Linked DNA regions of Homo sapiens: regions 1, 2, 3, 4, 6 and 7 are each linked to region 5. Evidence: promoter capture Hi-C in human tissues and cell types (Jung and others, 2019). All regions are on one chromosome and are shown on one strand. Each heading gives the region's core, a stretch centred on a gene start or on the middle of the fragment in contact. The rest is flanking DNA. Distances are from core to core; before and after follow the strand shown. Region 1 has its middle 70 kb from the start of DLEU1-AS1. Region 2 has its middle 52 kb from the start of DLEU1-AS1. Region 3 has its middle 110 kb from the start of DLEU1-AS1. Region 4 has its middle 15 kb from the start of DLEU1-AS1. Region 5 holds the start of TRIM13 (tripartite motif containing 13). Region 6 overlaps LOC107984568 (a long non-coding RNA gene). Region 7 has its middle 100 kb from the start of DLEU7-AS1.

What was found. The method cuts DNA at HindIII sites, captures the fragments that hold promoters and counts their contacts. A contact is called where the count stands out against the background at its distance.
Region 1: a fragment that was not itself captured here is called in contact with the fragment with the promoter of TRIM13 in region 5 in 1 of the 25 tissues and cell types used here (lymphoblastoid cells).
Region 2: a contact is called between a fragment that was not itself captured here and the fragment with the promoter of TRIM13 in region 5, in 1 of the 25 tissues and cell types used here (lymphoblastoid cells).
Region 3: a contact is called between a fragment that was not itself captured here and the fragment with the promoter of TRIM13 in region 5, in 1 of the 25 tissues and cell types used here (dorsolateral prefrontal cortex).
Region 4: a contact is called between a fragment that was not itself captured here and the fragment with the promoter of TRIM13 in region 5, in 2 of the 25 tissues and cell types used here (dorsolateral prefrontal cortex and spleen).
Region 6: a contact is called between a fragment that was not itself captured here and the fragment with the promoter of TRIM13 in region 5, in 1 of the 25 tissues and cell types used here (hippocampus).
Region 7: a contact is called between a fragment that was not itself captured here and the fragment with the promoter of TRIM13 in region 5, in 1 of the 25 tissues and cell types used here (spleen).

Annotation. Positions count from the first base shown.
Region 1 is chr13:50,595,125-50,599,419 of GRCh38, forward strand. No RefSeq gene overlaps it. Among named protein-coding and RNA genes, the nearest start is that of DLEU1-AS1, 70 kb to the left of the region's middle. The HindIII fragment of the contact is 5,382 bases long and covers 1-4,295 here.
Region 2 is chr13:50,576,821-50,581,144 of GRCh38, forward strand. No RefSeq gene overlaps it. Among named protein-coding and RNA genes, the nearest start is that of DLEU1-AS1, 52 kb to the left of the region's middle. The HindIII fragment of the contact is 3,612 bases long and covers 1-3,073 here.
Region 3 is chr13:50,637,241-50,641,302 of GRCh38, forward strand. No RefSeq gene overlaps it. Among named protein-coding and RNA genes, the nearest start is that of DLEU1-AS1, 110 kb to the left of the region's middle. The HindIII fragment of the contact is 3,566 bases long and covers 972-4,062 here.
Region 4 is chr13:50,540,505-50,544,623 of GRCh38, forward strand. No RefSeq gene overlaps it. Among named protein-coding and RNA genes, the nearest start is that of DLEU1-AS1, 15 kb to the left of the region's middle. The HindIII fragment of the contact is 6,360 bases long and covers 1-4,119 here.
Region 5 is chr13:49,994,371-49,998,414 of GRCh38, forward strand. TRIM13 (tripartite motif containing 13) reads left to right here and starts at 2,672. Exons shown (of 2, transcript NM_213590.3): 1 at 2,672-3,393. DLEU2 (deleted in lymphocytic leukemia 2) reads right to left here. Exons shown (of 14, transcript NR_152566.1): 11 at 2,704-3,049. MIR3613 (microRNA 3613) reads right to left here and starts at 2,131; the gene lies at 2,045-2,131. RefSeq lists silencers at 1,639-1,688, 2,279-2,408 and an enhancer at 1,969-2,098. The HindIII fragment of the contact is 11,924 bases long and covers 1-4,044 here.
Region 6 is chr13:50,680,142-50,683,964 of GRCh38, forward strand. It overlaps LOC107984568 (a long non-coding RNA gene), which reads right to left. Exons shown (of 3, transcript XR_001750074.2): 3 at 3,580-3,823. Among named protein-coding and RNA genes, the nearest start is that of DLEU7-AS1, 130 kb to the right of the region's middle. The HindIII fragment of the contact is 3,495 bases long and covers 1-3,107 here.
Region 7 is chr13:50,702,123-50,706,412 of GRCh38, forward strand. No RefSeq gene overlaps it. Among named protein-coding and RNA genes, the nearest start is that of DLEU7-AS1, 100 kb to the right of the region's middle. The HindIII fragment of the contact is 3,946 bases long and covers 294-4,239 here.

The sequences.
Region 1 (4,295 bases), core at 850-3,349, 600 kb after region 5:
TCTGAAATTATTAATTATACTCTTGCTAAAGGCATTGTATTAAAAATCGGGCAACAAGAGAAAGAAGTAGAGATGCAGTTTCTACAATTCAGTTCACAATATACTTGAAAAGATCAAATAATGGCACATCAAAAGTAGAAACAGTAAATGGGTTAGCTCGGGGTTTAAATCCTAGTGCTGCTAGTTCATAGCTATATGACCCTGGCAAATTGCTTAACCTCTCTGAGCCTCTATTTTCTCATGAGTAAAGTGGAGATAGTGAGAGTATATACCTCCTAGGATTGCCCTGAGGATTAAATGAGATAAGTATGTAAAGTGCATGTCACTGGACTTGGCCTTCAGCAAGACTTAGTGAATGTGAGTGTTCATTGGTACAAACTCTGTATATGTTACAAGAGTACACAGTAGGACTCCTAGGAGTTCAGAAACGGGCAGGGCCCCCGTGGCTGGGATGATCAGAGAGAAGCTGCCACGAGGGGAGAAAGATTTGGCTTGAGTCAGAGAAAAGTAAAAGAACTTATATATGTGGAGGATTTTAGCTGAGGGGATGGCAAGTGGGTGGTACTGAGGCTCCCACGGCCTCCCCATTTTATGTGAACAAGATGAACTTCACTATTATCATGTTATATATTGGGGGGCCAGGGTCTTCCAAGTAAGACTTGGTGTGAAGAAGCTTTTTGTTCACACACACACACACAAATTGAAAACCAATGACTTGCTTAAAGGCAACTGGTGGATGAGACAAGAGCAGTATCTGAAAAGAAGATTTACATTCCCTAATGTGCATTTGTTCAGGGAGTCATTTGATAAACTTACCGAGGACCTCTTATGTTCTAGGTAAGAGGTGGAGGACACAAAGATCACTGAGATACTGTGGCTCCTGCTCCCGGCTTCTACTCGTGGGACAGTCAGCCACTTAAGTGAACATAAGATGAGCAAAGGGTGCCTGGGGCCATCACACTGAGCAAAGAGCCATCGGGGCCATCACATTTGCCAGGAGCACAAGGGTGGAAACTGAAAGGCTTCACTGATAGAAGTGACATGTGGGCTATGTGGCTGAGTGATGCATGCTGCCTCTTTATGTTTCAGGATATCAAGCAGTGTCTTGTCCCCTCCAAAGATGCACTTGAGGGGCTCCCCTCTGTCAAAGCGATGGGGCAGGCAGTGTGCAGGAGGAAGAAAGGCTAGACTCAGCCACAGGACCCCAAGTGTGAGCAGGGGAGCCACAGCAGTGCCCTCAGCAGAGCCTTGCTGGGAGCCTCCACCTGCAGAGGTAAAGTGCAGCTGGAGCTGAGCCCCTGGGAGGAAGGCAGACCAAGGCTTTTCTGGAAGACTCCTTGGGGCTGCTTTCAAGAGTTGCTCTGGATTAGCCTTTTCTGCCTTCTTTTTGCTTTAACAACTGTACAATCCCTGTGCTAGAAGAGCCCTCTGTGGCCATGGAAGCGCCTAAGTGCAGGATCAAAGGGTTTGCTGGTCAGGTGAAGGGACTCAACAATATGAACAAAATTAGGCGCATTTAGTTCCTTTTTGGGACTCCTAACTTTTCATTTTCATATGGCTGCGGAGGGCATGCCTAGCATATCTGTGGAACCAGGGTGCCTGTGGAGAATGGATGCATAATAAACGTTTGGACCATGGAGTGAAATAAGCCAAATAGGGCATAGCTTCATAATTAAATTCACAGATGAAACCTGATGGAGATAGGATCTGGGAACACCAGCGACAATTGAGAAACTGCCCCAGAGGGATAGAGGGGAAAGGGACTAGCTGTATAGGCAGGAAATAACAACTTGAGGTTTGACCTTGAACAATGGAAGGCTAATTCACCTGGGCTGACATAATTGAAAACACAGATATACAGCACAGAAAAGGCACATGGAAATGTAAACCGTTGATAAGAGCTTGGGGAGAGTAAGTAGCAAATTGGATTGCAGATTAAATCAGGGCAAGGTTGCAAATTACTCAACTCCAGTGAGGGGTCTGCTAGACTTACAGCCCTGCTTGGCTCCACTGTGAGCTGGTGCAGGCAAAGGAAAGGCTGGGACATCATAAGATAGGGACCCAGGGCTTCTTCCTTCACCAATGCACAGAGGAACACAGGCAAGAGCTAATAGCAGGGAGGTCACTGATTGGTGTGGGCCTGTGTCTCTCTTGGCTTAAATAAAGTGGGAAAGAACACTTTGCCTTACATGCAAGATCCTCTGGGATGAGGTGGGGTAGGGAGGCTTCAGAGAGGAGGCTGGGGAGCTGATGTAGGTGATGGGGACATAGGTCAGGAAAGGAATTTGCATTTAGAACGAAACGTGGCACATGGTGGCACTCAATTTGTGTTAACTGCCACCAACCTCAACTCGCCTCAGAGTAAATATTGGGGCCTCTCCAATGGGAGCGTGGGCCCACTAGTGATTCTAGGTTTCTCCAGGTGGTCCTGAGCTGCCATATTGTACGTGTTTTTAATGCTTTCCCAGTGCCTAGTCTTTTGCTTTTGACACGAGTTACTTTTAGAATTTTATGTATTTCATTGTCTCATAAATACAGCTTCATTCTTTTTTTTTTTTTTTTTTTTTGTAATAAGCAAGAGTATAGAGATTAAATAGGGTCTTGGGTCCACTTAAATTGCCCACAGGTCAAAACATTCTGAGAAACAACGCTGCCAGTGATTAAAAAGAGCCAATTTAGAGGCTAATTTAGTAATTTATTAATTAATTTACTAATTTCTTAAATGTATTTAGAGGCTACTTTAGTAGTTATCCTCCCTGTTAGACAGGCACAAAAAGATCCTTGGCCTCTGTCCCTTCTCTTTACCTCTCACGTTGGCTGTTGATCTGGTGGATTCTACTTCCTTCAATACCTTCACAGCTGTCCCCTTCTTACAAGTCCCACTGCCACTGGCTGTCTTCACCCCAGGAGATGCAGTGCCTTCATCCCTGCTCCCCCTCTCTCCGCCTTCCATCTGCCCACCACCATTCTCAATGTGGGCTTTGACTGGGTCATTCCCCTTCTCAGAAACTTTCAATTGCTTTTAAAAAATGTATTCTCAAATCCTGGTCCGCTGTTCCAGGCTCCCATCCCTTGCCCTTCTGCCCCTGCAGCTTCCGAATCATTCCACCTCCTGTACCTTGTGATCATTCCTCTCTACCCACACAGGCTTTCCCCATGGATATCTTTTTTCCATGCTTCCTTTTCCTCCCAGGTCTCTCCATCCCACCCCATCTCTCTCTCTCATCTCCTCACATCTAAAGCCTATTAATCTTTCAAGACTCAGCTCAAGAGCACAAAGCCTTTCTCAGTTCCTCTAGCTTGAGGCTCTCTCTCCTTGCTCTGAGCTGCCATGATATGGGCACCTGTTCCGACCATCTCACAGAGAAAAAATGGGTCAGAGTCACTGTGTTGTGTGTTAAGAGCCCATGCTTTAGAGTTCAGAGCCTGGCTCTGTCACACACTAACCATGTGACCTTGAGCAAGTAAGTTAATCTCTCTGACCTTAAGCCTCCCTGTCTGCAAAACGTGTGACACGCTTGATGAAACATGTGTGATGTGCTTGGCAAGGTGGCTGTTAATGATCAGCAATAATGCTCCTGAGCTGCATGGCACAGGGGGAGGGGCTGATATATGACAGCTATTATTATTACATACTTACTAACCAAAAATAACATATTTTAGGTTATTGTATTTGTGTTCATGCCTTGCCTTAAGCCTTATGTTGGGCATTCCTTCAAGGCATAGCTCTTGGACGACTCATCCTTGTGTCTTCTGAAACACCTACTATGTTGCCTACATCAAGTAGGTCCTCAGACAGTGTCTGTTAATGGCATCAGTGACCAAATTAACAGAAAAATTATCAATGGCACCATGTGGAATGCTCTCTTAAAGCAAGTGTCCTATCATTTGGCTCAGCCTGGCCTTTACATTTCCACTAAGGTGACTGCACATTTCAGGCATTTACATGCAGGTGGGTGGGAGCAGAAAGTATGTTGTCGACAGGTGGTAACTTCGTGGCTTTGCCCTGTTGGGGTGTACGGTGGACGAATTCACTTCTATGCTTTATTTCCTCCCTTTATTTGACTAACCTGAATCTACCCAGCAACCAACACATAGAACAGAGCCTTAGAAATGGAGGCAGGTTTCCTCTGGGTCCCCTGGGAGCTTCAAGACCACACCATTATTAACTGGCTGGAAACAATTTAGCATCTGGCTCCCAAGGGATAGAAATGTAGAGAATGGGGTGAGAGTACATCCCATCCTGTCGTTTAAACAATATTCTGGCTCAGAAAGCAAAGAATCTAAACACATTT
Region 2 (4,324 bases), core at 18-2,517, 580 kb after region 5:
TGGAAGAACTGTCACTTTTTATCACCTCAGGGGCTGGGAGAGAGGCTTTGGGAAGTGAAGGCTGATAGCTTACACTGAGGAGTCCCTTCCCTGGCTAGGATCTGACGTGGGATCTCAGAAGGGCATGACTGATATGACCACGAGCCCACAAAATGTAGAACAAAAGGAATCAAAAATGGAGTTTGAATCCTGCTATGTTGATGTTGGAGACACATGGACAGGCAGTGTTCCCAATGGGCAAAACCAGCTCATGATATGGAGGAAGTTAAGGCATCTCTGCTGCAAATTATTCAAACTTAGAGTGTGGCCATCAGAGACTAATTCATAGTATTTTTTTTTTTTTTTAAGATGGAGTCTCACTCTGTCACCCAGGCTGGAGTGAAGAAGTGGCATGATCTCAGCTCACTGCAACCTCTGCCCCACTGGGGTTCAAGTGATTCTCCTGCCTCAGCCTCCTGAGTAGCTGGGATTACAAGCACCTGCCACCATGCCTGGCTAATTTTTGTATTTTTAGTAGAGACAGAGTTTCGCTATGTTGGCCAGGTTGGTCTCGAACTCCTTACCTCAGGTGATCCACCTGCCTCAGCCTCCCAAAGTGCTAGGATTACAGGCATGAGCCACCGTGCCCGGCCTAATTCATAGTATTTTTTCATTAGTCATATGTGTATCAATTATAGAGATCTAACCTATCATATGTGCATAGATTATAAAAATCTAATCTAATTTTTATAATCTATGCACATATGAAAACTTGCAGGAGATCCCAAAATTGACCTTGAAAAATGTCTCTGATACAGTAAATGATTTTTGGCTGAATGTATCAAAATGATTTTCTTTGACTGAACAAGGCATTTGGAGATTCAAGATGGCTGGTGGAGTAATCAAGTGCCATTGGGTTTTCATAAAAGTAACAAGCAAGAGACAAAGAGGATAAGGCCATGTATAATAGGCATATGGGAATGTATTTCTCCTAAAAATGTTCCAAAGGAGAAGCAACTTTGGAACTTGAGACCTGCATCATTGATTTTTAACATAGTCTCTTTTTCTACTCCCTGTTGATCTCTACCCAAACACAATAATCACACTTGAGTAAATTATTTCTCAAACTGTCTTACAGAGAACACTGCAATTACTGTGGAGCTGAAACATTACTGACAGACGTAAGGGACGTGCTGTTGTAAGTCACCTGGAAAGGTGTCTAAACAGTTCAACAGCTTAGTGTGATTAATGAGCAATGTGGGAGCCAACAGTAAGGCAGAAGCTGTGAGTCCCATTACTTTTCCTTAATGCTGGTGAGCAAGAAATGGGGACAAGCTTAGATTTAGGAAGTAGGATTAGGGTCTGGATAATTTATAATTTATCATAATTAATCTTGATAATGGAGCCCCACTAAGAGTTGTATCCTCTTCTTCAACTATGTGCCAACTTAGAGGTATCTTAATTGAGTGAAAATTTGGAAGGGATAAGAGAAAATAGCACAAAAATAAGTGTTGAAGACTTCTGGGGAATAAAAATCCATTATTCAAGAGGACTACAGCTACTTCTTTCTTGTCCTTTCAGATTTCAGCTTAAATGACTATAAATAACCACTCCCCCCCAGCCAGCAGGCCTTTCTTGACCTCTGGAAAATGTTAGTCTCTCCTCTTCTAATTCCGTAGCCCTTGGGACTTTTCTTTGCAATACTCATCACAATTGTAATTCTGCAGTCACTCGTATAATTATTTGTTTGATCTCCCTCTCTCATGAAGACAAGGACCATGTCTGTTGTCTTCTCCTCTACATTTTTAGCTCCTAACACCATGTCTGGCACACAGCACGTATTAAATTTTGTTTTTTATGTCTTATGAGTGTTTGAGGTGTTCAGAGAGATATATTGTTCTGATCAATTTAATGTCTTTTAAAGGCTATAAATTTCTCTAGATGAATTGTTGAAACTAAGGATACGTATTTTTCTGAAGACAATTTTGGATTTCTAGATGATAGTGTCTATTTTATAGCATTGATCAACTCAATTATACCAGATTTATATTTTAGGAAGAGAATTATATCAAAATTAGATTCCTCTTTTCTCGAACCTGTCAACAAGCCTCCATATTTTCTCATAATGAAGATTTATAAAAATACCACTGGGGAAAACCAAAGAATGATGGTCATTGAGTCTGCTTTGTGGGTCATAACTAAAGAGTCTTCACTGTAGTTCAAGGTTCAGGCCATATCCATGTACTGTCTTCCTGTAAGCAACAATGCTGGTACCAGATTTTGCTAATTTAAGGATAAATCTCCAGAATAAACATCAAAGAACCATAAGTCAACAAAGAAGAAAAAGACATAAAACTGACAAACGGAAGAAAAATGTGACTTTCCTCCCTGCTCTCTCCCACAACATTGAAAACAAGGTTGTGAAGGCAAGTTGTTAAAATCAGGTGAGAGCGTGAAATTTGACCTTCCATATGTGGTCTGAGTTTAACTCGATGTTTTCTCAAAAAGCATTTATAAATCCACAGAGCCAATCTTTAGCCATCAGTATCTCTTGCTTTCTAAATGCTCACTTCTGTTATTTGCAACAATTTGCGTTCATTTGAAAAACCAAACTCAAATTTTGTGTAGCCCCGAGATTGTGTTTCTGAAGACTCAGAACATGGTAGATTTGCTTGGCAGATTTGCAATTTAATGAGAGGGAAAGAGCTGTTAACTCTACAGAGGTGGATATGTGCCCATCGCTCCTCCCCACAAGCACAGAAGGCTGCGTTACAGACAGGAGAGAGGGCCAACTTGCCCCCCGACCAGTACCATTCTTAGACCTGAGCAAGGCTGTGCCTGTCTCCCTCAAGGGCTTTCAAGACAATCACTCCTAAATTACAAGTGACCCTATCAATCCATGCCCTCTCTTGTAGGGTCCACCCGATGTAGTGACATCAGGCTCTCTCAGGTCAGTTTTAAGCTGCCGAGGGTGAGGGAAGGATGATCCGTGCGTGAGTGGGACCACTCTTATCACTCTGACCATAGGACCCTCCTAACCTCCCTGTTGGTGTCATGTGTGGAAAGCATCCATACAGCCGGCACTGAAAGAGATCACATTGCAGGAATGCAGGGATTACAGCCTAAAGAATGCAGAAGATATGGCTGGAAGATGTGTTGTTCTACATTTACCCTATAAGGTTCTGAACAGTAAATTTAACATGACCAGAAAACAAATTGTTGTCTACATTTGCATACATACTCTGGGTAAGATTTACATTTGTTGTCATCATCCATGAACCAAGCACAGTAGCAATCTTGGAAAGAGACATTGGAAGCCAGTATTCACATGGATGGTGCAGCCTCCTGGTTATGGTATCATCAGCATCAAATAAATGCAGGGGCCAGAAGATCTAGAATATTTCCATATAAATAGGCTCTGAAGATCCATGGCCTTGTAAGTAATAACAGTGTGGCTACATTTTTCCTCATGGTGAAAGACATGAAATTATTCAGGGCATTACTGAAATAAAGAACCTAAAGAGATAGTTCCTGGACTTGAACAGAAAGAGGGGGTGCCTGTATACCACCTCCACTGATTGGACAACAAAATAACACATAAGTAACGCTTCTGCACCCATTACAGAAATTACTATATTCACAGGGACCTATGATTTTGTAATACAATTTTTATTGAGGTTAAATTCATACAACATAAAATTAATGATTTCAAAGTATACAATTCAGTGGCATGTAGTATATTTACAATGTTGTGCATCATCACCTCTATCTAATTCCAAAATATTTCTATCATTCCCAAAGGAAACCCTGTACCCACCAAGCAGTCACTCCCCACTCTCTCTTTTCCCCAGCCCCTGGCAAACACCACTCTGCTTCCAGTCTCTATGGATTTACCTATTGTGGAAATTTTATATAAATGGAATCATGCAGTACATGGTCTTTCATGTCTGGCTTCCTTCACTTAGTGTATTGTTTTTGAGGGTCATCTATGTTGTGGCATGTATCAGGACTCCCTTTCCTGTTTATAGCTGAATGATATTTCATCGTATGGATATACTATGTTTTCTTTATGCATTCATCAGTTGACGGACATTTGGGTTGTTTCCACCTTTTGTCTATTGTGAATAGTGCTGCTGTGAACATTCCTACACAAGTTTTTGTTATTTTGAATACGTGTTTTCACTTCTTTTGGATATATACTTAGGAGTGGAATTGTGAAGTCATATGTTAATTCTATGTTGAATCATTTGAGGCCCTGCCAGACTGTTTCCCAAAGCAGCTGCACTATCTCACATTCCTACCAGCAGTGCACAAGGGTTTCAATCTCTTTACGTCCTCACCAACA
Region 3 (4,062 bases), core at 1,505-4,004, 640 kb after region 5:
CTGTTGAATAAGCCAAGGTTTCCCACAGTTTGGATTTTGTCAATTGTATCCTTGTGGCATTAATTAATATGGTTCTCTGTTAATTCATTAGGGATTTTTTAAATGGTGTTAGTCTATGTTACTTCTTCATTTATTAGCCAGAATAATAACTTCTATAAAGAGAAACTTTCCCTGATTGACCGTTATGTTATTCAGAGCTGTTTCTAATGGGGAAGACAGGATAGGTGCTTGATTCTCTCCCTTAATTTGTCTGTTTTCAATAATGAAAAATATTTGAAGATAACTACTGAGTTTTTTTAAAAAAATTATGAAGTCATGAATTTAAATATATTTTGCATCTTTTAGCTAATTGCAGTCTTTGTGCTATTTTTTTTTTTTTTTTGAGATGGAGTCTTGCTCTGTTGCCCAGGCTGGAGTGCAGTGGCATGATCTCGGCTCACTGCAAGCTCCGCCTGCCAGGTTCACGCCATTCTCCTGCCTCAGCCTCCCGAATAGCTGGGACCACAGGCACCCGCCACCACGCCAGGCTAATTTTTTTGTATTTTTAGTAGAGACGGGGTTTCACTGTGTTAGCCAGGATGATCTCGATCTCCTGACCTCGTGATCCACCCACCTCGGCCTCCCAAAGTGCTGGGATTACAGGCGTGAGCCACTGCGCCCGGCCGTCTTTGTTCTTTTGAATGCATAAATGTCACATCTTTGGCCAGTGGGAGCCTATTTGAGTTGGCTTTTGAATCATTTGATTCATCTTGTGTATTTCAGATCTAGAATCATATTTCTCTTGAGAATCTTGGTTTCTTTTACTGAAAAATGGTATGTGGGCCACAGTCTAGAAACTGGGAGCATTCATTGTTACTAGGTTGTTCATTGTTTCTTGGGATTTTTTTTAGCATGAAATATATTGAGAGTTCATATTGAGACTTCCAGTGCAAATTTAGTTCTGTAGAGTCTTATTTTTTTTATCTTCCATCTATATCTCCTTTCTCTGTGCTAAGTATCTAAGTTTTCTATGACAGTGGGATTGATGGAATTAGAATATCATATAATTACCCACCCATTTTTTCTATCTTACCATGTCTCTGAAACAGTTTTAGAATAACAATACCAAAACTACTACCAACACTATGATTTCTGAAAACAGTTTAAGATTTTCTTTTCTTTTTTTTTTTTTGTAGTTGTTTTGACTGTAGGATATATCCCAATTACCGATTTTTTTTTTTTTTTTCAGAGACAGAGGCTCACTGTCATCCAAGCTGGAGTGCAGTGGCAAGAACATACCAGTTACTGAATTTTAAAATCACTTGAAATAGTTCTTTTATTTTGAGTCAAGTTGGCAACCAAGGTAGGCTTGACCACAAAGAAAAGAATTATTCCAAGTGACAACATTTAGATTTAAGCTCAGAGGCTCCATTTTATTTTCTATGCTTTGGGATTGCTTTTTATAAATTTTTTATTTTGCTTTATAGAATTATGAGAAATTAATGGATAAAAATCTTTACATGTAGAAATGCTAAGTTACTCCTGTGATATCTAAAAGTCTGATAATGCCCAAAAGGATGATTACATGCTGGAAAATTCTTCCTATTTTGAGAACACATGTTGAACATGTGATAGATGCAAAGATCCAATTGATTATTTCTCTTTGTGTATATGATGTTGCCCTGATTGCCCTCAAACTGTTTTACATTAGAGAGGTTTGCTTTCTATAACAGACATACCAGATCCCTTGAAGGGGTAGGGTATCATTGATGTTGTGCCATCAAAAGACATATGCCTAATGGGGAAGAGAGTGAATGAGGGCACACAGTGGTGAGAACCTGTCATGTGTGCTAGATATCATTAAAGTCTCACAATTGAATATTTTAAAAAAAGTAAATACTGCATTCTGCTCCATAATAATATGCATATTATATAAAGATAAAAAATTGCTTTTTAAATAACTTGCCATCACAAAAATGGGCACAACAGGAAGCTGCATCATGTTTGAGGTGCAGCTTTCAGTCCTTTATGACATAGCACTTAATATCCCTCAGTTAGGAGACATACGCAGTGGGCTATCAGGACTGCTTCATCACATAGTGCTCTAACATATTTCTGGAATAACTTGAAAGCATTTCTGAATAATTTAAATTATCTTTCATTTTCAAATTGATTCAGAAGATCTCCTTTTTCCTGTCATTTGGAAACATCTTGAATTTGGAATCTTGCGTCGAGTTTGATAGGGGCTGGGTGGGAGAAGGGCAGACAAGAAGAAGAAAGTGTATCTTTCCTGCCCTCAACTTTCCTGGAAGCTTTTCTTGGTCTGTTTATTGCTGTCTTGGAGTTCAGGCAGCCCTGACCTTATGAACATAGTTAGAACCTGTAGCGTCAGTCATCCATGGTGTCATTTGTGGCAGAAAAAAATATAGGATGACTTGCCTTTACAATTTATTAATAATGGCTGCTAGCTTTGTGCTTACTTTTTAAAATGTTCTCTACCTCCCTTGTCCTCAAATCACACCTTCTTTTCCTGATCCTATATTCTTTTATCTAAAATTATTTTTTCTCTTGAAATTAGAACTTATTTTTTTAATACCTTCCTTCTTAACCTATGTGATTTCTTTTCTTTCCAAACCACCTATTAGCTGGGTGGAGGAGCTTCTTGAGGTCAGATTCTATTTCACAGGTAAACACATATCTAAGCTCTGTTAGCTCAGTTCGAGTGGAATCTCAACCTTTGAAGCTGAAAGAAACATGGATATCTTCTAGGCCAGTGGTCTCCTGGCTGCATTTCAAACAACAGGTCTCCTCAGAGAAAGCAGAGGCCACCACAGAATGAAAAAAGGCAGTTGAATAGGCTTCTTTTTACCTCTTACAGGGCAGTTCTGGTTTTATCTGCCTTAAATTTGGAGATTCCTTTCCTCCAATACTTAATCTTTTTTTTCTTAAAATAAAATTTCACAATAATAGACAGTTTGAGGGTTACTGATTCTAGACCAGTTATCTAATTTTCAGACAAGAAACGTGAAGCTCAATTTACCAAATTGTCCAGGTCACACAGTCAATTATAGAACGCAGACTTGACCAAGATCTTTTGACTTCCCCACTTACTATGCCTTCTATGACCTCCTATTTCTATAAGACAACAGAAATCAACATCAACAATGAAAAGCTTTTTATTTATTTTAAAAATCTATTGTTCTTTTATCTTGTTGCTTGAAGGGCACAATGAATGTCAGGCAGAATTGAGACAAACAAGAGAAAATTGCCTCAAGATTTTCTGAAATACAACTTGACAAATATTTTTATGTTGTACTAAATTAAAATATTTTCCAATGAAGAGAAAAAATTCTAGGCAAACTTGTCTGGTTGTGGTAAAAAAAAAAAAAGAATACGGATGACTAAATCATCATAATTTGTATTCCAAATGCAGAGAATGGTGAATAGGAAGAATATCAAATAGATAATTCATGTTTTTAAAATTAATGTCCCTATTGAAAGCCAGCCATACAGATTTATGACAGATGACAAATACCTTCCAAAAAAAAGAATGGTCCTAGTGATGTTTTTTTCCATAATAAATAGACTCAAAGTAGAAAAATGGGGAATAACTAATTCTGAAGAAGGTATTTTAATGTCTTTATTTTCTTTTTCAACTTTTACTTTAGATTTAGCAGGTACATGGGTAGCTTTGTTTCCTGGGTATATTGCATGATGCTGAGGTTTGGAGTATGAATCATCTCATCACCCAGGTACTGAGCATAGTACCCAATAGTTGGTTTTTCAGCCCTTGCCTATCTCCCTCCCTTCTCCCTCTAGAAGTCCCCAGTGTCTATTGTTGCTGTCTTGTGGGTACCCAATGTTTAGCTCCCAGCTATAAGTAAGAACACGTGGTATTTGTTTTCTGTTCCTGCATTAATTTTCATAGGATAATGGCCTCCAGCTGCACTCATGTTGTGGCAAAGGGCATGATTTCATTCTTTTTTATTGCTGTGTAACATTCCATGGTGTATATGTACCACATTTTCTGTATCGAATTCACCACTGATGGGCAACTCAGGTGTTGACTCCATGACTTTGCTA
Region 4 (4,119 bases), core at 1,122-3,621, 550 kb after region 5:
TGTACTAAGTAGATTATTAATGCTTACATTTTGTTTCTTGGGGGGTACTTTAAGACTGCATAATTCAATCTTGGATCCTTAGAATCCTAAACTTTTAGAATTGGAAACATCCTTAGGTATCATCTAGTCTTTCATTTCCCAAAAGGTGTTCTAGAGATGTTTATAAATGCAAAGGGACAGAAGAAATACTTTGAGTGAATGTGGCTTAAACAAAGTCAAGCAGGTTTATTTACTGCTGGGGTTTTTGTAACATTCAATATACTACTTTATACTCTAAATTTCTAAAAGGGGGCAACAACTTGTTGCATTTCCCTAATTAATTGGAGAATGAATTCTTTTTATTAAAACATGTCTCCTAGAAAATGTTCTGTAGGGTTAGGAAAACACTGACCTAATTCAGTATCATTATTTTATCTATAAAGAGATTGAAGCTCAGGACTGCCAGATTTAACAAATTACAATGCAAGTCTTCTAGCAAAATTTGAATTTCATGTAAATAATGAATAACTTTTTATCATTTGCATAAGGCATACTTATACTGTACTAAAAATATATTACTTATATGAAATTTACATTTAGCTGAGCATTCTGTATTTTTGTCTGGTGATCCTAGCAATTGGCTTATCCAAAATGACATAGCAAATGCATAGAAGAACTGGGGCTAAAATAAAGTTTTTATACTCTTACTTAGTGGTTTTATTTTCTAAGCTACATAGCATGGTTAAGGGTTTAATGGCACTGTGGCCTACTAAGGAGATACTATAATACATATAGAACCGCTTCACTCTTCTGTGACCCTCTATCACAGTGTCTGCCTAACAACCTAGCAGGAGAATACTACAACCAATATTAATGTAATTGAAAAATAACAATGATGGCCAGGTACGGTGGCTCATGCCTGTAATCACAGCACTTTGGGAGGCCAAGGTGGGTGGATCACAAGGTCAGGAGTTCGAGACCAGCATGGCCAAGATGGTGAAACCCCGTCTTCACTAAAATTACAAAAATTAGCTGGGTGTGGTGGTGGGCGCCTGTAATCCCAGCTACTTGAGAGGCTGAGGCAGGAGAATCGCTTGAACCCGTGAGGCGGAGGTTGCAGTGAACCAAGATCGTGCCACTCCGCTCTAGCCTGGGCGACAGAGGAAAACTCTGTCTTAAAAAAAAAAAAAAGAAAGAAAAAGAAAATTAACAATCATAATGATGACTGACCTTTATTGGATGCTTACTGCATGCCAAGCACTGTTCCAAGAGACTTCTGTCTTTTGTCATTTATGCCTCCACAACAGCCCTATAGGCAGGGGCTATTGTTTTCCCATGTTACAGATGCAGGAACTGAGGCACAAGAGGGTAAGCAAATTGGCCAGGATCTCTCACAGCAGATAAGTGGCAGAGCTGAGGAAGAACTTTTAGGAAAGGAAAATTATATTTTGAAAAATCCCTTTTAAAATATATACCATAATTGAGAAGAAGTAAACTTTCTTTTTGACCGATCTCTGGAGGCTTGTTTGAACTCACTTTTAAGAAATAAAACCTCTGCCTGTCAGATGAATATCTTTATTGCAAAGGAAATTTGTATCATACAGCTCCTCCTAAGCAAGGAAAAACATAAAACAGAGATCTATGTTGGGTTGTGATATCTCTTTCTAGGTGAAGGTTAGGGGCAGAACCATAGGTCTAAGACTTGGAGCTGCAAATAGCAACAGGTCCTGCACATGGTACCTGCATTTGTAAGTGGAGGACAAAAACCACATCTTATCACTCCTCTTTCCTCAGTAGAATGTAGAGCAATAACTGGCATGTAGAAGGAGCTCAATAAAGATATCCAAACATATCTTTCTAGGAGATATGTTTTAATAAAAAAGGTCTGTTCTCTAATTACTTAAGGGGAAAAGACCCTCACTAATCCTTTGAGTAGAGACACACACTCATAGCACCCACCACCAAAGCCTTCTTTCCCGTATGAAAGACAGCGATGCATGTGAGAATGGCTTCAGATTCCCTTCCTTTTTGACACTGAAACCTGACATTCTTTTGGATTAAGAACCTAACTAGCTCTACCCAACTAGCTCATAGATTCCTTGGCTGGAAAGCTGCCTTGGAGAGTTAAGAAAAATGAGGTTTCCAGAAAATTGAGGTGAAGGGGCACAAGCCTTTCAAAGCTGTCATATTAAAATCAGCACGTTGACCATCATTTTCTGGAGACTTGGAGTGTAGACGAGAAGGCAGCCAGGGACATGGTGAAATGTGATTTTATCTCGGTGGTCAGTCTGAGTCTTTGTGGATCTCCTCACTCACATGTCTTTCCTCACTGATACCCAGCCCTTATTTACCAAGTCCCTTTGGCAAACAAGGGACCCATTTCCTCTTGAACTCTTGTCAAAATCGTTTTTAATTATTATAGATTTATGGCTCAAAAAATCGGAGAAATTCTAAATTAGTGGCTTAAAACATCAGCTGAATCTATCATATTCCATTTTTATGATTACAACTACTATCAATAATAGCTATCATTTTCTAAGGGCCTACCTTGTTCCATGTATTCTACTAAGTGCATTATATACATTAACTCATTAATCGAATGGAAACTAACATTTCTCTGGAGGAATACATTTAGGCTCAGAGAGGTTAAGTAACTTACCTAAGGTTCCACGATGAGTTGGTGTTCTGAGAATAAATGTGCACTAAAGGACTACAGCAAACATTTTACTATTTTAGGCTTATGGAAATGAGGCAAACTCAATTTGTGAGACACACATTTTAATAAACTGTGTTTAAAGCTAGAGTTTACCACCTTCTCACACACTGAGTAACTTGAACTATGTATGCAAAGAACAGCTGCCTTGCGGGGGGGGGGTCTTGGAAGACCTACAGATGAGCCTTATTTATAATTAGAGTGCCACTCTTTAAGCATTATTTATAATTAACATGTCAGTGATTTATAATTGAAGAAATCCTCCTATTTTTAAAAGACTAATAAACTGTTTTAAACTATTTAAATTATAATTCTTTTTATCCTTGATTTGATTACCAAACTTCAGGCCAGTTCTGTAACTGACTCTGAATTAATGGAAGTGAAAACTAATGCAGTTTAATGTAGAGGATTTGTAGCCATCCTTGTGTGGCTTTCTTATTTAAAATACATCTCTTCTTGACTGGCACTGGCTGTTTGGATATCTGTAAGATTCACCCTTTGCAAGAATAGAATCAAAGCCTCTAAGGAATTGGATTTAATTCTGAGAACGTGGAATTTTCCTTTGAAGTGACCCTTTAAAAATATTAGCAAGTTCCTGCCTTAATATCCAACTTGTATGCCTCACTGAGTTTTCATGAGATTCGCAGCCATCACTAGTTCTTTGTCTGGAAGCTGAAATGAAAAGCTAAGAGTTGTAGTGGGCTGAGAGAACACTGCTCCGGCGTCGTGCCCCGCTGCCTGTTTTCGTCCAAATGACTCAGATACAGTACTACAGCTGTTTCAGCATTCTTGGGTTTTGTTTGCCAGCTCTATTGGAGACTAAAGCTTATATAAGTAATATGAAACCTTAGCATTTACAACATAAAGCCACCACAAGAACTCACAGACATTAAGCATTGGTAGGATTTTATTTGGAGGAATTTTATTTTAAAATGTAATATCCTTTTCCTTTCTTTGGCAAAATAGAATCAGGAGAACTTGGATGGAACTCTACTGCTTATGAAAAGTCTCACCCTGTTCTTATAAGCAAGTCTGTCACCCTTGATTGGAAAGTAATAATTCATAAAACTTGATGTTATTATCGTTCCTCTGCCTGGAGTGATAGATATTCTTGAGGCTTTGTAAATAAAAAGTTTAAAATTGAATTTGCAACTCAAAAGACTGGTAAGTTCAAATGTTAGTTTCCTGCTGAGTAACTGCGAAAACAATTCCAAAGTAGCCAGTAGTGTGTTAGGAATGGCAGGTTTATTAAATGACTTGATGAAGTGCAATGAAAACACACTTTTGGTGTCTTTTTGCAGCCTTTCCCGCTACAAAAATAATAGTTTTCTTATAGACATTAGTGTTTGCCTTCACTCTACTTCTTTGGTTATTCTCCCAGTTCAGGTTTTATGCAAAGTTGTTCAATAACAAGGCGAGAGTTGGTT
Region 5 (4,044 bases), core at 1,422-3,921:
ATCAGCGTGTGTAAGATGAACACTGGTTCAGTCCAGAAAAGGTGGGACGACTTGAAGCAAAGGTGGGACAACTCAAAACAGGGGGCGGGCTTCCAGGTTTTAGGGAGATAAGAGGCAAATCACTGCATTCTTTTGAGTTTCTGGTTACCCTTTCCAAAGGAGGCAATCAGATATTCATTTATCTCAGTGAGCAGAGGGATGACTTTGAATAGAATGGGAGGCAGGTTTGCCCTAAGCAGTTCTCCGAAGCTTGACTTTTTCCTTTAGCTTAGTGATTTTGGGGCCCCAAGATTTTCCTTTCACATGAGTTAATAACTGTCCAGTCTTGTGAAATATCATTTTAATATTAGGATATCTGAAATGTTTCCATATGGCTGGGTGTGGTGGCTCACGCCTGTAATCCCAGCACTTTGGGAGGCTGAGGCCTGAGGAACACTTGAGCCCAGGAGTTTGACACCAGCCTGGGCAACATAGTGAGACTCTATCTTTACAAAAAATAAAATTAGCCAGGCGTGGTGGCGCATGTCTGTGGTCCCAGCTACTTGGGAGGCTAAGGGAGGAGGATAACTTGGGCCCAGGGGCTTGAGGCTGTAGTGAGCCATGATCATGCTACTGCACTCCAGCCTGGGGGACAGAGATAGACCCTGTCTCAAAATCAATCAACACACAATGACAACAAATAAATGAGATGTTTCTACAGATCACTTTGTTTTTTTAGAAACACTAAATTAATTAATTAATTTAGTTATTGAGACGGAGTCTTGCTCTGTTGCCCAGGCTGGAGTGCAGTGGTAGGATCTCGGCTCACTGCAACCTCCATCTCCCGGGTTCAAGCTATTCTCCTGCCTCAGCCTCTCAAGTAGCTGGGACTACAGGCATACGGCACCATGACCGGCTAATTTTTGTATTTTTAGTAGAGACCAGGTTTCACCATGTTGGTCAGTCCGGTCTGGAACTCCTGACCTCAGGTGATCTGCCCGCCTCGACCTCCCAAAGTGCTGGGATTACAGGCGTGAGCCACCGTGCCTGGCCTAAAAACACTAAATTTAGTAAGGTACTGGGGTGCAGTTTTGTCACTGACAGTTATGGTGCTGTAGAAAGAGCCCATATCTGGAAGCTGCCTTTAGCCTCAGCTCTGCCTCTTGCTTTTGTACCTTGGAAAAGTCACTTCACCTGTTTTCTCATCTATATAGGATGAAGATCATAATTTCTTTTACACAGTGTTATGAGACTGAATGACAGAAATTAAAAGAAGTGTTCTACGAAGGCAAAGTTAGGTTTCTTATAGCAGGAAGGGAGATGCACACAGAGAAGTGGGAATCTCAGGAGACGGATGTGGCCAGGGGCTTTTTACGGGGGTTGGGCTAAGCATTATTAGTCAACGGGCTGTACTGCTATTTATGGTAGGTTTTGAATACCGTTTCTCCAAAATAACCTATTTCCTCCCCAAACCCAAACTTCCTCAACTGGGATCGAACTCAATCCTACAGCGTGTTCTGAGATTCTATACTCGCCTCACTTCTCCCAAGATCGTAAATTCTGGAGGAGCCATTCCTTCATCATCCATGTTTGCATCCTTCACACCGTTCACTGGTTAAGTGCTTAGTACGTTTGCTATTGGGCAAGGTCCTCAAACGGGAGGTGGACGTCAGAATAGTCAGGTTATCGACTGAGTAACTGTTAGTGGTGGATAATTTAAAGCCAATTTGAAAGTTCATCCTTTCCCCCAAAGGCAAAAACAGGCGTTCCTTTTCTTAAAAGAGAATTTTAAATAGAATTGGGTCTCTGGTGTCCTGCCTAAAGCCCGCAAAGAAAGAGGGTACGGTTGGGGGTGGGGGTGATGGGGGATACTGAACCCTTTTCTGGTTGCGCCTTGCCCGGAGCCCCCGGCTAGAGCCCTGGCGCTCCTGGCGCGCTCCCAACGCGAATCGGTGACTCCGCAGGCCGCGCAGTGCGGAGGTGCCCGTCCCACCCTCCCCCTTGTGGGGTGCGGGGCTCCATTTCCCCAAGCCGCTGGGGTCGGCTTCTGGTCTTGAGATGCGGATGAAGTGGTGTGAAGGGTTGGGCTTTTTTTTTTGTTCCTAAAAATGCAACGAACAAAAAAAAAAGTACAACAATCCAAACCCAACCATCTTAATTGCACGGCAGCTTAACTGGGAGACTTTCTTCCCGGGCGGCCCCACCCGGGACCGCGCCGCTTCAGTCGAGCCCACCGTCTGGGCAAACGGCGTCCACTTCCCGGAGCCGCTGCCCAGCCTCTGCGGGGGGGCTTTGGGCGGGCGCAGGACTCTGGAAGGGAGAAAAGCCCGCAGCCCGGCCCTCCCCGTCCCAGGCGGCCCGCGCGGGTGGACGGCGGGAGCAGGCGGCGGTTGGAGACGCCGGAAGGAACGCGGTCTCACCACCCGGCTCCCTCCGCCAAGGCGAGGCGCGGCCGGGGAGGCGGGACACAGGCGAAGCGGGACGGGGAGGCGGGGCCGGAGGTGCAGGCGGAGGCGGGCGACGGGGAAGGGAGGGGGAGGGGGAGGGGAAAGGGAGGGGGAGGGGGAGGGGAAAGGGAGGGGGAGGGGGGAAGGGACGGGAGGGGAGGGGGAAGGGACGGGAGGGGAGGGGGAAGGGACGGGAGGGGAAGGGGAAGCGGGAGAGGGAAGGGGGCGGAGCTAGCCGGAGCCGCGAGTCCATTTTGGGGCTGTGCTTGGCGCGTACCGTGCGGTCCCTGTAGTTGGAGGACGGGCGGTCGCGCGGCCTTTCCCACTAGCCGGAGGTCGGAGATAAGTACCCGCCGCCCGGCTCCTCTCGGGAAAGCGGGGTGGTCCTCGAACCTTCAGCGAGGGTGGGGAGTTGCCCAGGTCAGCAGGGATCTGCGTGGGTTGGGGGGGCTGGCGAAGGCCGTCTGAGCTCCAGTCCGGCAGCGCGGCAGAAACCAGCGGGGCACTGTCATGGGCCTGGGGAGGAGCGGCCTGCGGAGGGCGCCGGGGCAGTGTGTCTGTGGTCCAGAAAACCTGCTCCGTCCGGAGCCTTCCTGGCCCCGCTACCAGCGTCTCCACATCCCCTAGAAAAGAAAAGACGGGTGTGGGCCTTAGGTTACAGCGCGCCGCCAGCGTTTGGTTGCATGGCGCCGGGGGAGGGCGCCCTAACCGAGAAGCTGCTTAATACAAAGAGCTCCAGGCTCCTGGCGGTTCACCAGGTCTAAACAGCCGGGCTTTATTTGTGGGGGCGATTGAAAAAATTGAGGGTCAAGATTGGGGTGCTGTGCAAATAAATGCGTTAATACTGTTCTTTTTCTTCTTTCTTTGCAGTAGCCTCTAGTTCGTTAGTCAAAACGTGAAAAAAAAGACCTGCTTTGCCCTGGGAAATAGTAACCCTGCCAAATACATCAGCTTGTAGGAGACAGAGGTAAACTACAATAATTTTCCTGTGTTATCTTTTTTTTTTAAACACCCAATTTCAATAGGCCCTAGAACCTTCCAAAATGGAACTGTGTGTAGAATACGTATGTTCCCATCCACTTTCATTGGTGGTCTTTGTTCTTTGCATATTTTGTTAAAACTTAGAAAAACAGAATTCACGTTTAGCAATTATTTATGTGGTATTTATCTTAAATATAGCCAAACATTCATATTACAAAGGAAGAAAGGGGCTTCCACACTTTTTTCCTACTTTTTTTTCCCTTCTCCTATGCTTAGTGAATTGTCAGGCTGCTAGGGCTTGTAGAACAGGGCTTGAGTTTTCTAGAGACCTTTATATAATAGGCACTTTAAAAGCAGAATTTCATTTACATAGGCACTCCTTCTAGTAGAACTTGATGGAGCTGTTAACCGGCTATACTTCCTTCTTGCACAATGGGAGCGTCCCTATCCCTCCCTAAAAATACGTTTTTTTTCCTTTCTCCCAGCTGGCTTACTAAACCTCCCTGGGAAGTCCTTTCCTAAAACCGGGCTGTTCTGTTCATTCTATACATTTATGATAGGTTATCTGGCCTTAATTCTGTCACAGCTTTTGTTCAGATATGCTCATTTTCATGACACTGCTTTGTACCTGATACCT
Region 6 (3,823 bases), core at 110-2,609, 680 kb after region 5:
ATTTTTTTAAAAGCCCTGAAAGTGATTCTTGGGCATACTGAAGTAAAAAACTACTGGTTTAGACTTAAGGTGACTTAAGCAACACTTTTGTAGTTCTGCATAGTCAACATTAGTGATTAGGAAAGGTTCAGATGTCCTGAGAACTGGCATTCATCTACTCATTCATTTTGCAAATCTTTATTGAATACTTTCTGATATTCAGTCTTGAAAGGAGAAGACAAGTGTGTGTCTAGGATAGTGGTTCTCAAACTTGTGTATACGTCAGCATCGTGGGGAGCTTTATAAGAATAAATAGTCTCTCTCTAAAACAAACAAATACAACTCCCTCTCTCTCTCTCTCTCTCTCTCTCTCTCTCTCTCTCACACACACACACACACACACACACACACACACACACACACAGTGCCTTTGCAGGTCTGGGATGAGACCACTACATATTTGAGATGGTGATTCTGATATGCAGTCAGCATTAAGGAAACATTTTATTAGAGAAACTCTCTGTGCACCAAAATACCAAGTGAACAGACTTTTTTAGAGAAAGACTTTCCTATAATTGTGGGAAAAGCATGTGGCACATGACTTCATCTTGAGCAAAATCAATTATAGCTTCCTTGCAGATAATATTGGTCTTACACAAAACTAAGTAGCGAGGGTGTTAGAGAGAAGGTGGGTGAATCATTTCAAGAGGGGCCACCATGAGCCCCAAAGGGCCTATTGAGGCATGTTTGAAAGACAATGGGAATATCTATTTAGTTAGATGGAAGAGATACAAATTGTCATGTTTTGGTTGGTGTAAAAATACTACCATCCTCGTGATTTAATAATATTCATTGTACTTCTGCCACTATATGTAGTACTATCTGTGTTCACAAAATGGAAATAATTGCAACAGATATAATGGTAGCAAATTTTAATCAAACTTCCAAATAGAATTATTGGTTCAGTGAAATATAAGTTTCAAGCTTTTTTTCTAGAAACTTTGGAACACACGGGGAAAAATCACCCAGTCTTACCATTCAGAAATGATTATAATTAGCATTTTCATAGATAACCATTTTTTCTCAATTGATGTTATACTGTGATCATTTTCATTTTATTAAACATGATGCCTGAAAATTACTTTCAAATGATTCAGCAGAGAAAGATAGAAAGAATGAGATAAAGCAGATTTGTAAGATTTTAACAATTAATAAGACTAGGTGAAAAGGGTACATTATATTATTTCAGCTTCTTGGTAGGTTTGAAATTTTCAAAATAAAAAGTTTTTTTAAAAATTTGAAATTTTCAAAAAAATAGGAGAAATCTATTCAGTGCAAGAAGTAGACAAGCAACAGGGTGGATTACTCTAAACATCATGTGGTTAAAGTCTGGAACTAAAGATAGTTTTTAAATACTTAGAAAACTAGCAAATCAAAAAATTATAATCTATTATGATTTAGTGGGGAAATTTAGCTGTAGGGATTATGATTCTACATTTTTTATCAGTATTCATGCAATAGCCCCAGTGGGCCTTCTTATTTTTATCTGTCATCTTACTGACATTGTCAATGAACTGAGAGTCATGGTTTCAAATGTACACCATTAAATAATGGTGCCTGGCTGTGATCAAAACAACAAAGGCCAAAAGACTTTTAAATAAAAGAGTCATCTGGTTGCAAACTAAATAAAGCCAGTGGGGAGCATGCAGACACACACTCTCTCTCTCTCTCCAGAAACATGATTTTTCCCCCAATGGGCACACTTTAATTCTTCTGTGGAATAATATAAAATGTAAATAGATAGCCCATATTATAATTTATTATCCCACTATTAGTCAAGTTGATTGAGTCCAATTTTTAGTTTTATAAATAATACCATGATTTTTTTTCTAATTTCAACATTCCTTAGGACAGACATCTAGAAATGAATACTACATGTGGTATTGAAAGTTGGCTTAGCTCTGCTTTTCCCACTGTCAATGACAAAGAGAAAGGGTGAGTCTATGTCACTAGAAAAGCATGAATGCATCTTTTGGCCAGACTCTGACCCCACACCATGGGGGTAGTTAGTTTGGGTTGAAGTAAGCTGCTATAACAAAGAGACCCTAGGGTATAGTGGCTTAAATAAGTTGGAAACTTTTTTCTTTCTCACTTTACCACTCAGGTGTGAATGGTTCAGAGCTGATGGGGAGGCACTACTGACATCCTCAACAAATGGCTTCCATTTCTGTATCCAAAGTGACAATGCTTGTTCTTGCTGTTTTACAGACACTGGGAAGGGATAAATGATCTGGAGAATGTATGCCCAATTGTTTGAAGGGCAAGACCCACAAGTGGAGTACATCATTGCAGGTCACATCTCATTGGTCAGAATCTAGTCATTGGTTTTATCTAGCTACAGAGCTGATAGAAAATGAAGTAGTTACCTGGACAGCCATGGGCTCAACTAAAACCGGGAGAAGAGATCTGGGAGCACAATGAATGGATCTGCCTCAGCTTCTAGCTGAGTTCTTGGAACCCAGAGGGTGAGCAACTGAGACACTGTGTAATTGCTCTTTTTTCCTATGATTTCTGTCTCCCTCAACGTTGAGCCTCTGAGATGTAAGCATTGGAAACATTACAGTCAGATAGTGAAAAGTTTGCTAATCTGACAAGGAACCAATGTTCATTAAACTCTTCAATGTGCATTTTTATAGGGTGTGGCCAAACCCGAGTTAGATAAGTGCAGATGTCACTAGCTACAGGTTCATTTGAACTCCACAGTTCAATTCCCGCCCCCCACCTCACTTCCCCTCTCCCTCTCTCTTTCTCATCCTCTACATTTCCTTTGTGCTTTTGGAATTCTCCTTTTTGTTACAAATAGGTACACAAGTAAAAAATTCAGGGGTTCAGTGGAAACAAACAAGTTTTAAAGTAGAATTTACAATGAGATGCCTGATGAACAATGGTCTATTCGCATAGCTGAAAGCTCTACTCACAAATCTCTTTCCCTTTTAGATTTGTGAGGAACAAGGGATTGTATTCTCTGCACGGGATTTTGCTTCTGGGCTAGGGTTGACTGCAAGTTTATTGGAGTGAGCACTATGTTTTGTTTTGTTTTTACCATAAGGGACTTCTGCAAAGAGCCCCAGTGCTCATCATGTGCTGTGAGAAAAATGGAGAGGGTTTGCAGAACAGTTCTTTCTCTTTGTTCAAAATTAGGTTCAAGCTGAGAACCACTGTGGATATTTCAAGTTCTGTTTTGGATAAAATAAGCAGACGTGTTTGAATTAATTAACTTTGTAAGGCAACTCAGCACCGAGACTGAATTAGTGCTGATGGAAGGAGCACTGTTTCAGGAGTCCCAATACTTCTGTCCCAGCCTTGGCCTTGCCACAAAATCTTCATAGGACTATGGGAAAATACCCATCATTTCTGTGCTGTGGTTCCCCAATTACATAAATTCAGAGATACTTACAGTTCTAGAAGAATGATGCTATAGATACTGCAGTCTGCCTTTGTTATGGTAACAGGAAGACTGAGGTGAGCCTATGCCAATCCTTTCCTCCGCAAACCAGTTACCATCAATCATGCATTTCTTGGAGACCCCTGGGACCTACCCTCAAGCACCCTACATAGTAGATCCTACAATATTTTGTGGCTTAGATTTTATGTATGGGTCTGCTTCCCCATGGGCTTCTTAAAAACAGATCCTATTTCTTATTCATCTGTGTTGTTCCTGAAGTGCCAGTACTATGCTTGGCTAGGTACTGGATGCTTGATAAATACATGAAATAAAAGTGTACCTGATATCAGAAGGCTGGCTAGTAGCAGGGCGGGGTCAAGAATTCAGGTTTCTTTACTT
Region 7 (4,290 bases), core at 1,017-3,516, 710 kb after region 5:
CACTTTGGGAGGCCAAGGCAGGTGGGTTGCTTGAGCCCAGGAGTTCAAGACCAGCCTGGGCAACATGGAGAAACTCTGTCACTACCAAAAAAAAAATTAGGCATGATGGCATGTGCCTGTAGTCCCAGCAGCTTGGGAAGCTGAGGTGGGTGGTGTGCTTGAACCCAGGAGATCAAGGCTGCAGTGAGCAGTAGTTGTGCTGCTGCACTCCAGCCTGGGCAACAGAGCAAGACCAAGACCCTGTCAGAAAAAAAAAAAAAAAAAAAAAAAAGGTGGCCAGAAATGTAAATCCTTCCTAAAGTGATCTGTAGATTCAATGCAGCCTCAATACAAATCCTAGCAAGATCTGTTGTAGAAATCAACAAGCAGATTCTAAAATTTTTATGGAAAAGCAAAGTAAACAGATTAGTGAAAAGAATTTGGAGAAAAAACAAAGTTAATCTAAAGAATTAACTCTAAAGCTACAGTGTCAAAAGTATGCATGTTGGTGAAAGAGTCACCACAAGTCAATGAAATTAAACTGAATCCAAAATAAATCCACAAATATAAGGATAATTGATTTTCAACTAAGGAACAAAGGAAATTCAATGGAGGATAGTTTTTTTCAACAGATGTCAGCGAAACAGATACCTATATGCAAAAACATGATTCTCAACCCATCCCTTGCCTCAAATACAAAATCAACTCAAATTGGAACATAGGCCTACATGTAAAACCTAACAATAAGAAATTTCTAGAGGAAAAGATAGGGAAGAGATTTTTGCAACCATCGATAAGTGCTGCTTTCTTAGCTAGGCCACACACAAAAATTAAGTAGGACTTCATTGAAATAAAAAGTGCTGTTCTTTGAAATATACTGTTAAGAAAAAAAATAAATAGACAAGCCACAGACTGGGACAAAATATTTACAAAATACGTATGTTATGAAAGACTTGTTTTCAGAATATATAAAGAACTCTGACAAATAATAATAAAAGTAAACTAACAACCTAATAAAAAATGGCCAAAAGACTTGGACATTTCAGCAAAGAAGGTATGTGGAAGGCAAATGAACAAATGAAAAGACACTCAACAGTATTCGTCATTAAGGATATGCAAATTAAAAACAGTGAAATACTGCCATACCTCTTTTTAACAATAGAAACTTTAAAACGGCAAGGTCAAGAGCTGATAAGGATGCAGAGTAATTGGAACTCTCAGGTATTGCTGGTGGTAATGCTAAGTGCCACTTAAGAAGTCAGTCTGACAATTTCTTATAAAGTTGAATGTCACTTATACAACTGAGCATTTGGATATTTACCCAAGAGAAATGAAAACATAAAGCATTGGAGTATCTACCCGAGAGATATAAAACATCTTCATGTTGCGAGGCATTATTCACAACCTCCAAAAAATTACGAACAACCCAAATAACCACCGCCCAGTAAATAAATGAACAGACTCTGTTACATTGATACAATGGAATATGACAGCAATTAAAGAGAATAACTTGTGCTATATGTAACAACACGGATGAACTCAAATGCATAATGCTAAGTGAAAAAAAGCCAGACTTAAAAGACCACCTGCTCTGTCCTTTCATATGAATCACATGCCACAAAAGGCAAACTATAGGGACAGTAATTGCCAGGGGCTGAGAATGGAGAGAGAGGACTGATCACAAAGGTGCAGAGAGAATGCTCTAGGTCTTGATTGTGGTGGTGCTTACACAACTGTATGTGTTTTTCAAGATCCATCAAACTGCACACTTAAAAAGGGTAAATTTTACTGTATATAAATTATACCTTGAAAAACCTGACTTTAAAAAAAGGGAAGCCAGGGAAGCAAAAGACAGAGCCAGATACATCATACATCACTAACTAGGTGTGTAGCTGAAGCTTCTGTTCCAGCCGCTAAGCATGTGCTGAGCCACGTGCCACCTTTTCTTAGTCTTTTCAGTCAACAGCTATTGTTAGAAAAGACATCTTGAACCAAAAGCTTAGACATTTTAGTACTCTTTTACCCAGATTCCTTTTCTAGAAATGTGTCCTACAGAATGAACCTTAAATTACTTAAGCGCTGATGATGCCTCTTGTGCAGCTCTCTACAGCAATAGATGTAAGAAGTGCTCACTTTCTGAGCTTTGAGGTCATGTGTCTAACTTCTTCTGTTTCCCTTTAGAAAGAATGTGTGCTTGAGTCAGGTTGGTCTGCCACACCTGAGCATTCCATACTCTCTTTAGTCAAATCTCTGGGTTGATAAAATTGATTACTGAGGAGATGATAATAAGATGCTTAACTCCAGATTCTACAGACTGCCTTGGTCTATATCATAGACTATATCTCAGGCCATACCTGCAGGAGGCCCATGGCAGCTTAGAGGGCTGCCTTGTAGAAACTTTGGTCAAATCAAGTCACATCCTAAAGAGAAGAAAGTGGCTAACTTTTAGAAATTGCTGAAACAGATCCTTCTATTGAATAGAAGCCACCCTGAATGGTTGCTCACTCACCATACAGCCTGGAAGAAACCAGGGTCTCTCCTAGGTTCCTATGGAGAGAGGTCAGAGTGTCTAGTCTAACTCTCAAACTCACTTAAACCACCAAAGAATTCACCCTCAGTTAAGATTTGGCTTTATGGCAGCTGATTGGTGATAGTACTAGGGGCAGGGGAGGTAATTGCCTCACTTCCCAAACTTTCAGTCCTATTGGAAGGTGACACAGCTGTAGTTTTACCCATCTTGAAAATGAGAAGGTGATTGGTCCAACCCCCTCTTACATAGATGAGGAAATGAGCACTTGAGATCTAACTATAAAGCCAGTTAGTAGCAAGTGGTGCCACTGATTAAGCCTCCTGATATTCGGTTATGTGTCTGATCAGCTAGCTTCAGACTAAACTGAGTCTTTTGCTTAATAATTTGCCTAAGAAACGCAGATACAACACACACACACACACAAACACACACACACGACAGAGAAAAATACAACTACCATGCATCATGTACACATCCAATACTAAGGAATCCAAATCAATTCTTCTTCTTTTTTTATTATTTATTTATTTATTTTATTGTTATTATTTTTTGAGACGGAGTTTCACTCTTGTTGCCCAGGCTGGAGTGCAATGGCACAATCTCGGCTCACTGCAATCACAGCCTCCCGGGCTCAGCGATTCTCCTGTCTCAGCCTCCCGAGTATCTGGGATTATAGGTGCCCGCCACTACGCCTGGCTAATTTTTGGTATTTTTAGTAGAGATGGGGCTTCACCATGTTGGCCAGGCTGGTCTTGAACTCCTGACTTCAGGTAATCCGCCCGCCTTGGCCTCCCAAAGTGCTGGGATTACAGGCATGAGCCACCATGCCCGGCCCAATCCTTCTTCTATTGGGGTTGTTATTAAAAGAGAATAGCAGAACAGAAAGAAGTCTTAAGAGTCCAGGCTCTGGAGTGGGCTATTGGGATGCAAAATAATCTAAAGTATTCTGTGCCTCAGTTTCCTTATTTGTACAAAATGGATGATGATAATACCTCTACCATAAGGTTGTTATAAATATTTAACTGGTTGCTATATGTAAAATGCTTAGAATAAAGCCTGACACATCAGTGGAAATTCACTATTACTCTCTCCATTGGACTGAAGCTGGCAGCTTTACAATTACAGCTGTTCACATACCATAGTCCCCATTCCTGGTACAGCTACCTTCTTTGTGGCTCTTCTCTTTAGATCAAAGTAGCACCAGATAGTGCAGCAAAAGATCATGTTCATGTTAGAGAAAACTGGTTCTTTACCTCGAATAGCTTCCCATATGTTCTGTGCAAGGTTGGTGCTATAATTTTTTTAAGTACCTGCAAATTTCATTCAGAATAACCATATTTAACTTTTCTCATATAAATGTGGTGGTTGTTCTGGTATGAGATTCAGCTCCCTGTCTGTTTGGGTCCTTGGGCTTGGTTCACAGCTTCTCAACAGCTGTCTTCAAACACGCAAGAATCTACCCTGCCTAGGCCGACTCTCCCAGACGTGGCCCTAGGGTGTTTGGAGCCATGCTACCTCAGGGTATTTTCTTTTTCTTTCTTTCTTTCTTTCTTTCTTTTCTTTCTTTCTTTCTCTCTTTCTTTCTTTCTCTTTCTTTCTTCCTTCCTTTCTTCCTTCCTTCCTTTTTTTTTTTTTGACATAGGGTCTCACTCTGTTATCCACGCTGGGGTGCAATGGCATGATCATGGCTCACTGCAGCTTCGATGTCCTGGGCTCAAGCAATCCTCCCACCTGAGCGTCCTGAGTAGCTGAGACTACAGACATGCATCACCATGCCCGGT